Regions from separate parts of the Homo sapiens genome. Here regions 1 and 3 are each linked to region 2. The links are contacts of gene promoters, found by promoter capture Hi-C in blood cells and fetal thymus (Javierre and others, 2016). All regions are on one chromosome and are shown on one strand. Each heading gives the region's core, a stretch centred on a gene start or on the middle of the fragment in contact. The rest is flanking DNA. Distances are from core to core; before and after follow the strand shown.

Region 1 (3,689 bases), core at 829-3,328, about 13 Mb before region 2:
TACTATTCAACATTAAAGGGGAAGCTGAGAGCAGTGGCTCATGCCTGTAATCCCAACACTTTGGGAGGCTAAGGCGGTAAGACTGCTTGAGCCCAGGAATTCAGGGCTGCAGGAAGCTACAATAGTGCTACTGAACAAAAGCCTGGGCAACAGAGCAAGATCCTGTCTCTAAAACGAACAAACAAACAAGAAATAAACCATTAGAGGGTAAGATATTACCAGATTTTTTAAAAACTGAGTCATACTATATCCATAATCTCTTTCAAAATTGGTTAATCATGTTTAACAGAAGGGAAATTGATACCTGTATTATGCAAGAAGAAGTTAATATCACTGACTCTAATGATAACTTTAGATCACTAATGATCATAACTCCTATTTGATCCAAACCAGCAATGTGGTATCCTCTTGTTTTATTTTTAATAATCTGACATAATTTCTGGTATCTCATGAAACCAAAAAAGGTAACACACGTCATAAACACTCTGAATAATTTTCTGACTATACCCATGTAATACTTTGCTAGGAACTAGAAATCAAAAAAAATTCCAGAAAAGAGCAATTACACCTAATAGGTAGGTAGTAGGTACTCACTGAAAGAAAAATACAGGATGTTCATGACCCAAGAGGTTTTACATTTCATTGTACTGTTTTTTTTAAACCAACTGGTAACTCAGGTCATTATACTCTGATCATTCTTTATGTGATCCACTTCCTTCAATATCTAAACGTTCTTTAGAGCAGTGCTATCTTGAGTTTTCTGAATGGAACAGTGCCTTTCAAAATCTTTTTATGAATTTCCTTCATGCACGTAAGTGCAAAAATCTTTAATATTTTGAATTTTTCTCCCAAATAAATCTGTTTTTCCCTGTTTTTATAAGTGTGAACTACCTGCATCAGAATCACTGACATGCTTATTAAAACATTCTTGTACTGCCATCCCCAGGCCTACTAATTGGAGAGGCTTGGGGTCCTCAAATCCTCATTTTTCTAAGCAAGCACCAAGTGATTCTTATGTCCACTAATGCTTGATACCTCAATTATATGCAATTAAGATTCTAAAGCTCTTTGAGAACAAGAATTATACAATTTCTTCTGTAATTATCCAACACAGAAAATCACCATAGAGAATGCTTAGCAGTGACTAGTTTTTAGAAACACTAAAACGCTACTCATGTAGAGGACAAAGGTTGCTATTCATAATTGAATAACTACTCTGGGATAAAGAAACCCAAAATGAGAAAACCTGAAAAGTAATCCTTCTATAGAGCATGCGCATTTTATCAGTAAAGCTTCAAAGTGAGTACAACCTTTATAGTGAGTTAAAATATAAGGTGCAATATAAATATCTGAATATGCATCATATATTTTCCGGTGATTCTACACACACCTGTAATTTTTATCAGGTCTTAGTTTGATAAAGCAAAGATGTATTTACTTAATCTCTAAGAGTTAACATTAAGCTTAGTTTTTATTTGTTTTGAGACGCAGTTTTGCTCTTGTTGCCCAGGCTGGAGTGCAATGGCACAATCTAGGCTTACTGCAACCTCCGCCTCCCAGATTCAAGCGATTCTCCTGCCTCAGCCTACTGAGTAGCTGGGATTACAGACGCCCACCACCACACCCAGCTAATTTTTGTATTTTTAGTAGAGACAAGGTTTCGCCATGTTGGCCAGGCTGGTCTTGAACTCTTGACCTCAGGTGATCCGCCCACCTCGCCCCCCTAAAGTGCTGGGATTACAGGTTAGAGCCACTGCATCTGGCCACTTAGTTTTTAAAATTTAACAACTATCAGTAGCCACAACTAAGCTTCCTAAAAATATGTAGTTCAGAATAATAGCACCACTGTGAACCAACACTAAATTCTAGTAAGTCCAAGAAGCATCAAAGAGGTTTGAAAAAAGTACTTACACACAGCAAATTGGTACTACTAATAGAAGGTACAGGGTAAGACAGAGAAATTTTTAACCAAAGCATAGTTCTTCACAACACTGAGCATCAACTGGATGTGAATGATTTTTACCCAAAGCAACAAATCAAGTAAACTAAAAGTAAACCTAAATGGTCATTCTTTTATTTCTACAAGAAAACCACAAAATAATTATACCACTTAAACCAAGAAATAAGTATAAAAACCAACAATGCTATAGATTGGATGTTATCCACAGGATTGTGCAGTTTGAAAGTACTGAGAGGAGATTTGGAAATGTTACTTAATGCTATTCTCATCAACATAATGACAGCAACTATTTAAGTACTACTTTAAGGTTTTAACTTACAAGTATTATGACACTTGTTGCTTCTCACTATTAATACAATAAAGTTATCTAAAGCCAGTATAAGCTTATGCATGGAATGTTAAGAATGCATTCATGCATTCATATTAGGAGCATCTATATTTTTCTTAAAAGCTGTTTTCTTTTTGAGACCAAATCTCACTCTGTCGCCCAGGCTGGAGTGCAGTGGCATGATCTGGGCTCATTGCAACCTCCGCCTCCCAGGTTCAAGCGATTCTCCTGCCTCAGCCTCCAGAGTAGCTGGGATTACAGGCATGCACCACTAATACCAGGCTAATTTGTGTATTTTCAGTAGAGACGGGGTTTCACCATGTTGGCCAGGCTGGTCTCGAACTTCTGACCTCAAGTGATCCACCCGCCTCAGCTTTCCAAAATGCTAGGATTACAGGCATGAGCCAACATGCCCGACCTTGAAAGCTGTTAATATGAGCACCCACACTGTATCAAAAATCAAAAACTAAGTTAACAATCACCTATTCTTGAATCTACCATGGTCAGGATTTTTTAAATCTGTAAATTGTCTGGCAACATCTACATTACCCTTGTATAAAATATGTAGCAATACAGTAACGATCGCAACTATGCAATTTTAATTGTAATTATAGAAAAAGTGATCACAATCATGTGATCTAACTTTCTTGAAAAGAAACATCAAAGTAACCTAAAATAGAAGTACATTTTTGGATGAAATAGACAAAAGTGGCCAACTTACTGTAAGAGATAATTATTTTTGTTACCTACAGGGCATTCTTAGAATTTTAGTCAGCTATATCCAGTAAACTGACAGGAAATAATATATATTTCTCCACCAACACAATGATTCAGTGTATCCACAAAACACAGATACATGCAACCTCCAAATCAAATCTGTGTTAAATTACTTAATTACTTACCCACGGTATACCAACTAGCATCTGTCAACTTGCTGATAATAGCTTCCTGAAAAGATCCATCAGATGTCCTTGTTTCAACAATAGCTCCAACCTAAAATGTGAAATCCCAATTTCCTTACCAAATTTAAACAAATAAACCAAATCACTCCCACCAACTATATAATCTAGCTAAGAAAAATAAACACCATACTTATGATAATTCTATCTTACACTGTCTGAGATCTTTATCATTCATAGTACTTATCTATTTATTATGCAATTTGAGCTCCAAAACACTTTGACAAAAGTTAGGTAGCTATTATTACCCCTACTTTACACACTGAAAATTGCCGTTCAGAAAGAGAAAATAATATGCAGAGTCCAGCATGACAGCCCAGTCTCTTAAATCTTACTTTAGAGCTTTTCCACTATATCACATTGCCTTCAAGAAAATTAAATCGAAGAACTGTAAAATTATAAGACAACCAAAATAGCATCCATTTTCTTTCACAGAAATAGT
Region 2 (3,670 bases), core at 496-2,995:
TCAGCCTCGTACGCCGCGACAAGCAACACATCATCGTCCGACTCCAGCTGAGCCTCCGCTGCTGCTGGCAAAGGCGCCTTGGAGCTGCCAGGGCTCTGAGGTCGCTCAGTTCCGGAGCTGCAACCCGGAGTCCCAGATGATCGGGAGATACTTGAGCCCCACGTCTGAAAAAGCGTTCTTTGCCGTCCGCTCATTAGGCCGACAACCACCGAAGGCTTCTGTCAGATATCCGTAGCAGCAGCAGCTCAACCGCTACGGTTCCGATCCCCATCGGTTTCCTTCGCACAAAACTCTGGAACGAGAAGGCGGGACTAAGGCCAGTTTATCCAGTTGAAAATGCCGCTACTGAGTTTCCGTTGGGAATGATTGGCTGGCTTCCCGGAAACCTTCACAGCCCTGCCGGAGACTCATGCGCATTATTAAGGCGTTACTCTAAATATGGTCCCCGGTGCGGTTCCGGTGTTTTGTTTTAACAAACTCTAAATTTAAGTTCCGTTTCCAATGATTAGATGGCTGGGCGTCATTGCTAACGTGATAAATCACTTAAAATGTTATAATAGAGATTTATTGTAAAATATTACATACCCGGGGACAATGGAATAGCCACCAGTTTGGGAACTTAATGTTATTGAGCGTCTAACGTGCCTCATTCCTTGTACTTTTAAATCAGAATATAAAGTGAAAAGCAAAAATGTGTAGATGGAATAATTTGTCTTATATCTCTATCTGGGCTGAGAAAACAAAATGCCAAGTCTCTTTTTCACCGCGCTGGGAGTGGCAACCCATTATTTTAATATTTTCATTGTTTAAAGGGAAGTGAACGTGGTCTGGTCCAGCTATTCGTCAGAATTTTTTTTTTTAATGCTCCTTGCAAAGCAGAGCTAACTCATAGGCAACATGCCCAGAGTCAGCCTACATTTTTTTAAGTAAGGAGTCCTGATGTTCAACTATTAAATCTTTATTATAGGTAAGAGCATTATAATAAACGTCGGTGTGCAATTATTCCACTCTAACGAAGATTTCTGTCTCAAATAATTCCTGACTTCTCTCTAAACCTGACTTTGAGTAACCTCTGTAAATTTGTTTCCTCGTGTACTGAGAAAAAAATATACATCACAGAGTTACGAGCATTAATAATGTCATTCTCATCAGCAAGTGGCATCCTGAGTGCGGCTTCTTTATAAATTGTTTTATTTGTTAAAGTTTCTGAACTTCGTTTTGGACAAACTTTCTCGTATTTGTATGGGGGGAAGGGGATGGGCAGTTTGTATTTAAGTTTCGGTTGTGTGATCTTTAAAAGGGAAATGGTGGGATATGGGTTTTCGGATCGACAAGGACTGAAGCACTTCAGGTGTGACTTTTTAGGCTAGAACTAGATAAAACGAGATAAGGAGCCTGAATGCTGTTTTCTTTTAACAGGTTATAGACTGGACTTTAAAGGCATAGCTGCCTTAAATGTGGGTAATGGTTGATAAATGTCGCTACCATCAGAGGTCGCTTCACAAGGTGTCTAATTCAGAATCGAAGATCTCTAGCGGTCTTCTACTCAGTCGACTGCAGAGACGACCGCGGTAGGTTTTTCAACCCGGACTCAACAAAGAAGCCCTCATAGCACAGCCTTGACGTCACTCAAAGACAGGCCCCAATCCCGACTGCTAGAGCAGAGGCCCGCCCCTCGACCTCCGTGAGTGGCCCCGCCCCGCCCTAGGGGGCGGGGCGATGCCGAACTGCGGCGGGCTGGCTCAGTAAAGCGGAGGCAGCGGGGGAAGATGGCGGCGGCCGTTCCACAGCGGGCGTGGACCGTGGAGCAGCTGCGCAGTGAGCAGCTGCCCAAGAAGGACATTATCAAGTTTCTGCAGGAACACGGTTCAGATTCGGTACCAGAGGCGTAGGGGCGGCCGGGCTGGTGCGGCTGAGGGACGCCTCACCCCCCTGGAGATGCCCATACATTCCGTATTCCTCTGTGCCCCCGCCCTCGTCTTCCCGCGGCCGGTGGCCTGGAAGGCCGGAGAGGCCCAGCTTGTGCTTTGGTGCCTCGCTCCCGCCTCTCGGGCGTTCTCTACTGGGGCAGGGGAGCAGCTTTATTTCTTGGGGCACACAGGCTGCAATTGTAGAGTTAGAACCTCATTGGGATCCTTGAGTGGGGGTGGAGGCCAGAAAAATAGGAACCCGAGGATATTGGGGGCTAGGGCGGAGAGGCCGAGGAATAGTGGTGTGGATGAGACTCCTGGGAGCGGGGCGCCGGCTACTAGGGAAATGGGAAGGGATGTGAAGATTTCTGTGGGAACGGTGTATCCAACTTGCTTTTCTCAACAGTTTACTAAATACTGAACATTAATGCGTGTGATTTTTAAAAAATCCGTAGGTTGTGGTTTAAGTTTTGATTTAACATATCGACCCTTTAAATGACCTTTTCACCTTTATACTTTAAGGGAGCTACATGCACATTTCTCTTGTGCAGTGGTCTGTCATTGTTATAAACAGACTAAGAAATTTATTTGAAATGCTTTATACTGTAGGCTCTCCATTTGTCAGCATAGTCTCCATCTTAACCATCCGTCTATAGTCAAGTTATTTTTGTTACACTTGTTTTTCCTTTGGAAAATAAGTTCATTCATGCACCTGTTAAATTGCTGAAATAGTTGTGCACGCAGCATTCTCTTACAAGCGGCAGCCTGCTTGTGTTTTCTATACAATTTTTAAAATTCTAAACTTTTCATTTAGAAAAACTGTTTCTGGGTTTTTTTGTTTGTTTGTTTGAGACGGAGTCTCTCTCTGTTGCCCAGGCTGGAGTGCAGTGGCGCGATCTCGGCTCACTGCAACCTCCGCCTCCCGGGTTCAAACGATTCTCCTGCCTCTGCCTCTCGAGTAGCTAGGACTACAGGCGCGTGCCACCACGCCAGGTTAATTTTTTGTATTTTTAATAGAGACGGGATTTCACCGTGTTAGTCAGGATGGTCTCGATCTCCTGACCTCGTGATCCGCCCGCCTCGGCCTCCCAAAGTGCTGGGATTACAGGCGTGAGCCACTATTTCTGGGTTATTTTGAGAAGCTTATATTTTATTTTCATTTTGGGCGGGCGTCATGACAGGGAGATAGAAGAACTCTCCAACTTCCAGTGCCTTCTTCCTTAATTATTATCCTGGCATCCGCATCTTAGATTAATTTAGCAGATATTAATACAACATCTGTAACAAGAACTATTCTCAGTGTTTGGAGGTACAAGGGTGAAAAAGAACATGTGTCGGGGATCTTACCCCATTTTAATGGAACTATTTTCTCTTAAGCCAATTCGTATTTCATCTGAAACAATAGAATAGACATCATTAACATTTAATAATACCTCAGTCATGTACTTCATCCATCATATTCTTATGAAACAAATCATGCCATGTGGAATCGTATGTAAAACTGGGCCACGTGGAAGAATTTCAACAGACTTGGATTATCAAAATGTTTTTATAACATTAATCTTTTAAATGCATAGTCTCGGTCGGTCGTGGTGGCTCATTCCTGTAATCCTAGCACTTTCGGAGGCCAAAGCGGGCGGATCACGAGGTCAGGAGATCGAGACCATCCTGACTAACAGTTGAGGCCAGGCATTGAGGACCAGCCTGGCCAACGTAGCGAAACCTCATTTCTACTAAAAATACAAAAAAAATTAGCTGGG
Region 3 (3,455 bases), core at 334-2,833, about 13 Mb before region 2:
AACCATACACTATTGGATGTGGACAAACTATGGGTAGAAATATGTATACGATGTAAAGGTCTAATTTAACAGCAGTACTATTTGAGTGTCACCGCTGTATCCCCCAAAGAACAGCATTACAAAAGCGTTTTGCTGTTTTTGCTCACATATTCATTAATTTAATCCTCACAATTAGCAGCGAAGTGGGTAAAGCATATGTTATCCTTATTTTCACTGAGCTCTAGACAGATTAAGTGAATTGGAATATAGAAGCCATCAATTGGCAGAAGTCCTGCTTTTCCCACTATGAAAAGAAAGTAGTGAATTAGGTAAAAAGCACTACTTTGGGGGAAAACTATAAAAAACACTACGTGGGGGAAAATAAAGCACATTATACAAGTTAAGTGTATCCACCATAAATATAAAAAAAAAAATATGCAAAAGTCAATGCAAAAAAAAAAAAAAAAAGCACAACAGGGGACGTTAAAGTTTCATTCATTCCATCTATTCAAACATTTTATAGGCTTCCTGGCCATTTTCCCGGGAAACAGGGTCAGTTTTCAAACATCTGTACAAACTAGACTTATATCTTACGTTTGGGAATTTAAACAAATAAGGACTAAAGATTTACTAAACTAAAACTGGTTGAAAAACTACATGGAATCACATACCACGTGATGTTCCATTCAAACTAGTCCCCGTTCCAACAGGAAGACGTTTATTTGCAGACAATGCCGGAGGAACACAGGGCAACTCATCTTTCAGCAAAACCAAATGATCTCCATGATTTTGAGAAACTACCTCACGAAGTCTCTTCACTGGCATCTTAATCTTTTTTTTCTTCTCCAAGCTGACCTCAGAGCCTTTCATATTGTTGGTCACAAAACAAGTCCCACACTTAAGGACGGAAAAACTTTCTCTGTTTCCTTAAGACTTCAGAACAAAATTTTCACCTCTTTGCAATAACTGTTTTTAAAATGTCGAACATCCACAAAGCTGAAAATCTAAATTCTGATATTGAATCCAGGATTAGAGCTGACTATAAAGTCATATTTACCCATTAATCCCACTCAGTCTATTAATACACCACGCCAAAATGTGAAAGTGGGGATGACAAGAGAATGGCCACAGGAGCAACAATAACCATAACAGTGCACTCCCCAACCCCAGAGCTGGTAGGGCAAAACCAAACACATGTAGTGGCGGGCTTAAAATTTGTTGAGAAGAGGCAGTCAAGCAAATAAAAGCGAAATGCTATTTTTAAAATAATGACCCACATAAGAAGCGTAATAGCTTTCTTCAGCCACAGAGTCTTACACACCCCTCCAGATGCAATCGTCGGAAACATAAATTCACCCCTACGTATCTCCAGAACGCCCGAGACCCGCACCGTCGTGGGTGTAATCTGACAACAGCGTCAGTTGCCCGCAGGTCAACACCCACTTCCCTTCAAACCCGCCCTTGAGACACAACACGCATGCGCGCCAAGAAACTCACCCAAAACATCCAACCAGAAAGCTAAGCGCTCTCTGGTGCTCTTCCATTCCTCTCCGGGTGGAAACAAACTCCGGACATAACAGGGGTTTATTTATTTATTTATTTTAAGGTAGCACATTGCCGCACAAGACCGCTCTACAGTCTCATCCAAGACTTGAAGAGCTCCCGACTTGTAATACTACTTGTGTTTACCAGGGACTGTTGACACTGCTTCGCTTCCGAAGACCGTTAGGGACGTGGGATTAGGTAAATTAGGCTTCCAAGAAGTTTCGACAGATTCGGGTCATTATTGGAGAGGAAGTCGGGAATAGAAAGCGTTGTCTAAGCAGAAAATAACCGAAGTTAATCCTTAGGAGATTTTAGAATTCGCTGATGGTACCTGCTTTTTCTTCTAGATTTCCTCGCGTTATAACGAATCGGCGTCTAAGGGTTTAAGTGTCACTTGACATTACTGCTCCCACGTGTTCTTTCCCATCTGGCGGCCGCGGCTCCTGTCCAGACCCTGACCCTCCCTCCCAAGGCTCAACCGTCCCCCAACAACCCCCAGCCTTGTACTGATGTCGGATGCGAGAGCCTGTGCTTAAGTATGGTGTCTGTTCTCTGCCGTGAGAATCCGGGGTTCCCGGACGGGGGGTGGCAGGCTACGCTCCAGGAAAGTGGCGGGGTCTCCCGAGGAGGCCGCCGCACGTACCTGGAGCAGTGGGGGGTGCGAAGCGGGACAGCGCTTCGCCGGGTCGGGTGCAGACCTTCCTGGAGATGGTGTCACCTGGGCGAGGGTAGGAACTTTAGGCCCTGAGCCACCCCCAACCCGGATCTGGGGAGTCGGGGTCCTGTTTTGGGACACTGAATTAGACTATAAGGTATTTACGATGTGACCTTGAGCTGCCCGGGGGAAGATCCTCCTTTAAATGAAAATCGTCTTTAGACATAATACCAGGTCTAACACCCCTTCCCTGATCTGCTCATTTCCCAGGATGCGCTACTTAGAGCTTTCCCTTTACGCCTTACTGGAGGCTTTAGAATAATCAAAGCAGAAAATGTAATCCGATCTAAAAGCTAAATAACTAATTTTATTTCTTTTACATCTCGGCAGTCTACCTTCATAGAAGTCTAGACTTAAAATGGACTTTAAAGTCTGAGCGCGGTGGCTCACGCCTGTAATCCCAGCACTTTGGGAGGCCAAGGCGGGCGGATCACGAGATCAGGAGTTCGAGACCAGCCTGGCCAGCAAGGTGAAACCCCGCCTCTACTGAAAATACAAAAAATTAACTGGGCATGGTGGCGCGCGCCTGTAGTCCCAGCTACTCAGGAGGCTGAGGCAAGAGAATTGCTTGAACCCGGCAGGTGGAGGTTGCAGTGAGCTGAGATCGCGCCATTGTGCTCCAGCCTGAGTGACAGATCAAGACTGTCTTAAAAAAAAAAGAAAAAAAAAGACTTTAAGGGCTCAGCGTTAAAGACCCTTTTAATTATTATTTTTTTGTAACTTGCTGAGTTTCTCTAATGAGTTTTGTGTTGTTTTTTGAGACAAAGTCTCACTCTGTGGCACAGGCTGGAGTGCAGTGGCGCGATCTTGGCTCACTGCAACCTCCGCCTCCCAGGTTCAAGCGATTCTTCTGCCTCAGGCCTCCTGAGTAGCTGGATTACAGGCGCCCGCCACCACGCCCAGCTAATTTTTTTTGTATTTTTATTAGAGACGGGGTTTCACCATGTTGGCCAGGTTGGTCTCGAACTCCTGACTTGATTCACCCGCCTCGGCCTACCAAAGTGCTAGTATTACAAGCGTGAGCCACCGCACGTGGCCATTATTTTTTATTTTAGTTACATTTTCTCTTCGTAATTGGGCTCATAGGTGGTACTTGTTTGTTCACAATTTATTGTATATTATGAGTGTACTGAAAGAACTACAATGTCAGAGTCGCCAGAGACCTTGGAGATAGTTTAACTCTTACCTTCTAGGTGAAACTTATGTGAAAGAAACA

What was found. The method cuts DNA at HindIII sites, captures the fragments that hold promoters and counts their contacts. A CHiCAGO score of 5 or more calls a contact.
Region 1: a fragment that was not itself captured here is called in contact with the fragment with the promoter of FKBP3 in region 2 in 1 of 17 cell types (total B cells); the score reaches 10.1 in total B cells.
Region 3: the fragment with the promoter of TIMM9 here is called in contact with the fragment with the promoter of FKBP3 in region 2 in 2 of 17 cell types (naive CD8 T cells and total CD4 T cells); the score reaches 7.6 in naive CD8 T cells.

Annotation. Positions count from the first base shown.
Region 1 is chr14:58,305,614-58,309,302 of GRCh38, reverse strand. It overlaps ARID4A (AT-rich interaction domain 4A), which reads right to left. Exons shown (of 24, transcript NM_002892.4): 5 at 3,191-3,281. Among named protein-coding and RNA genes, the nearest start is that of ARID4A, 8.9 kb to the right of the region's middle. The HindIII fragment of the contact is 534 bases long and covers 1,812-2,345 here.
Region 2 is chr14:45,132,556-45,136,225 of GRCh38, reverse strand. FKBP3 (FKBP prolyl isomerase 3) reads left to right here and starts at 1,745. Exons shown (of 7, transcript NM_002013.4): 1 at 1,745-1,877. The coding sequence starts at 1,770. It overlaps FANCM (FA complementation group M), which reads right to left and starts at 296. Exons shown (of 23, transcript NM_020937.4): 1 at 1-296. The coding sequence starts at 194. RefSeq lists enhancers at 93-142, 805-1,675, 1,769-1,988, 1,676-2,547 and a silencer at 1,622-1,799. The HindIII fragment of the contact is 3,907 bases long and covers 1-3,054 here.
Region 3 is chr14:58,425,659-58,429,113 of GRCh38, reverse strand. TIMM9 (translocase of inner mitochondrial membrane 9) reads left to right here and starts at 1,583. Exons shown (of 6, transcript NM_012460.4): 1 at 1,583-1,722; 2 at 1,872-2,060. KIAA0586 reads right to left here and starts at 1,395. Exons shown (of 31, transcript NM_001329943.3): 1 at 651-1,395. The coding sequence starts at 849. RefSeq lists enhancers at 1,124-1,313, 1,384-1,433, 2,448-3,391. The HindIII fragment of the contact is 11,466 bases long and covers 1-3,455 here.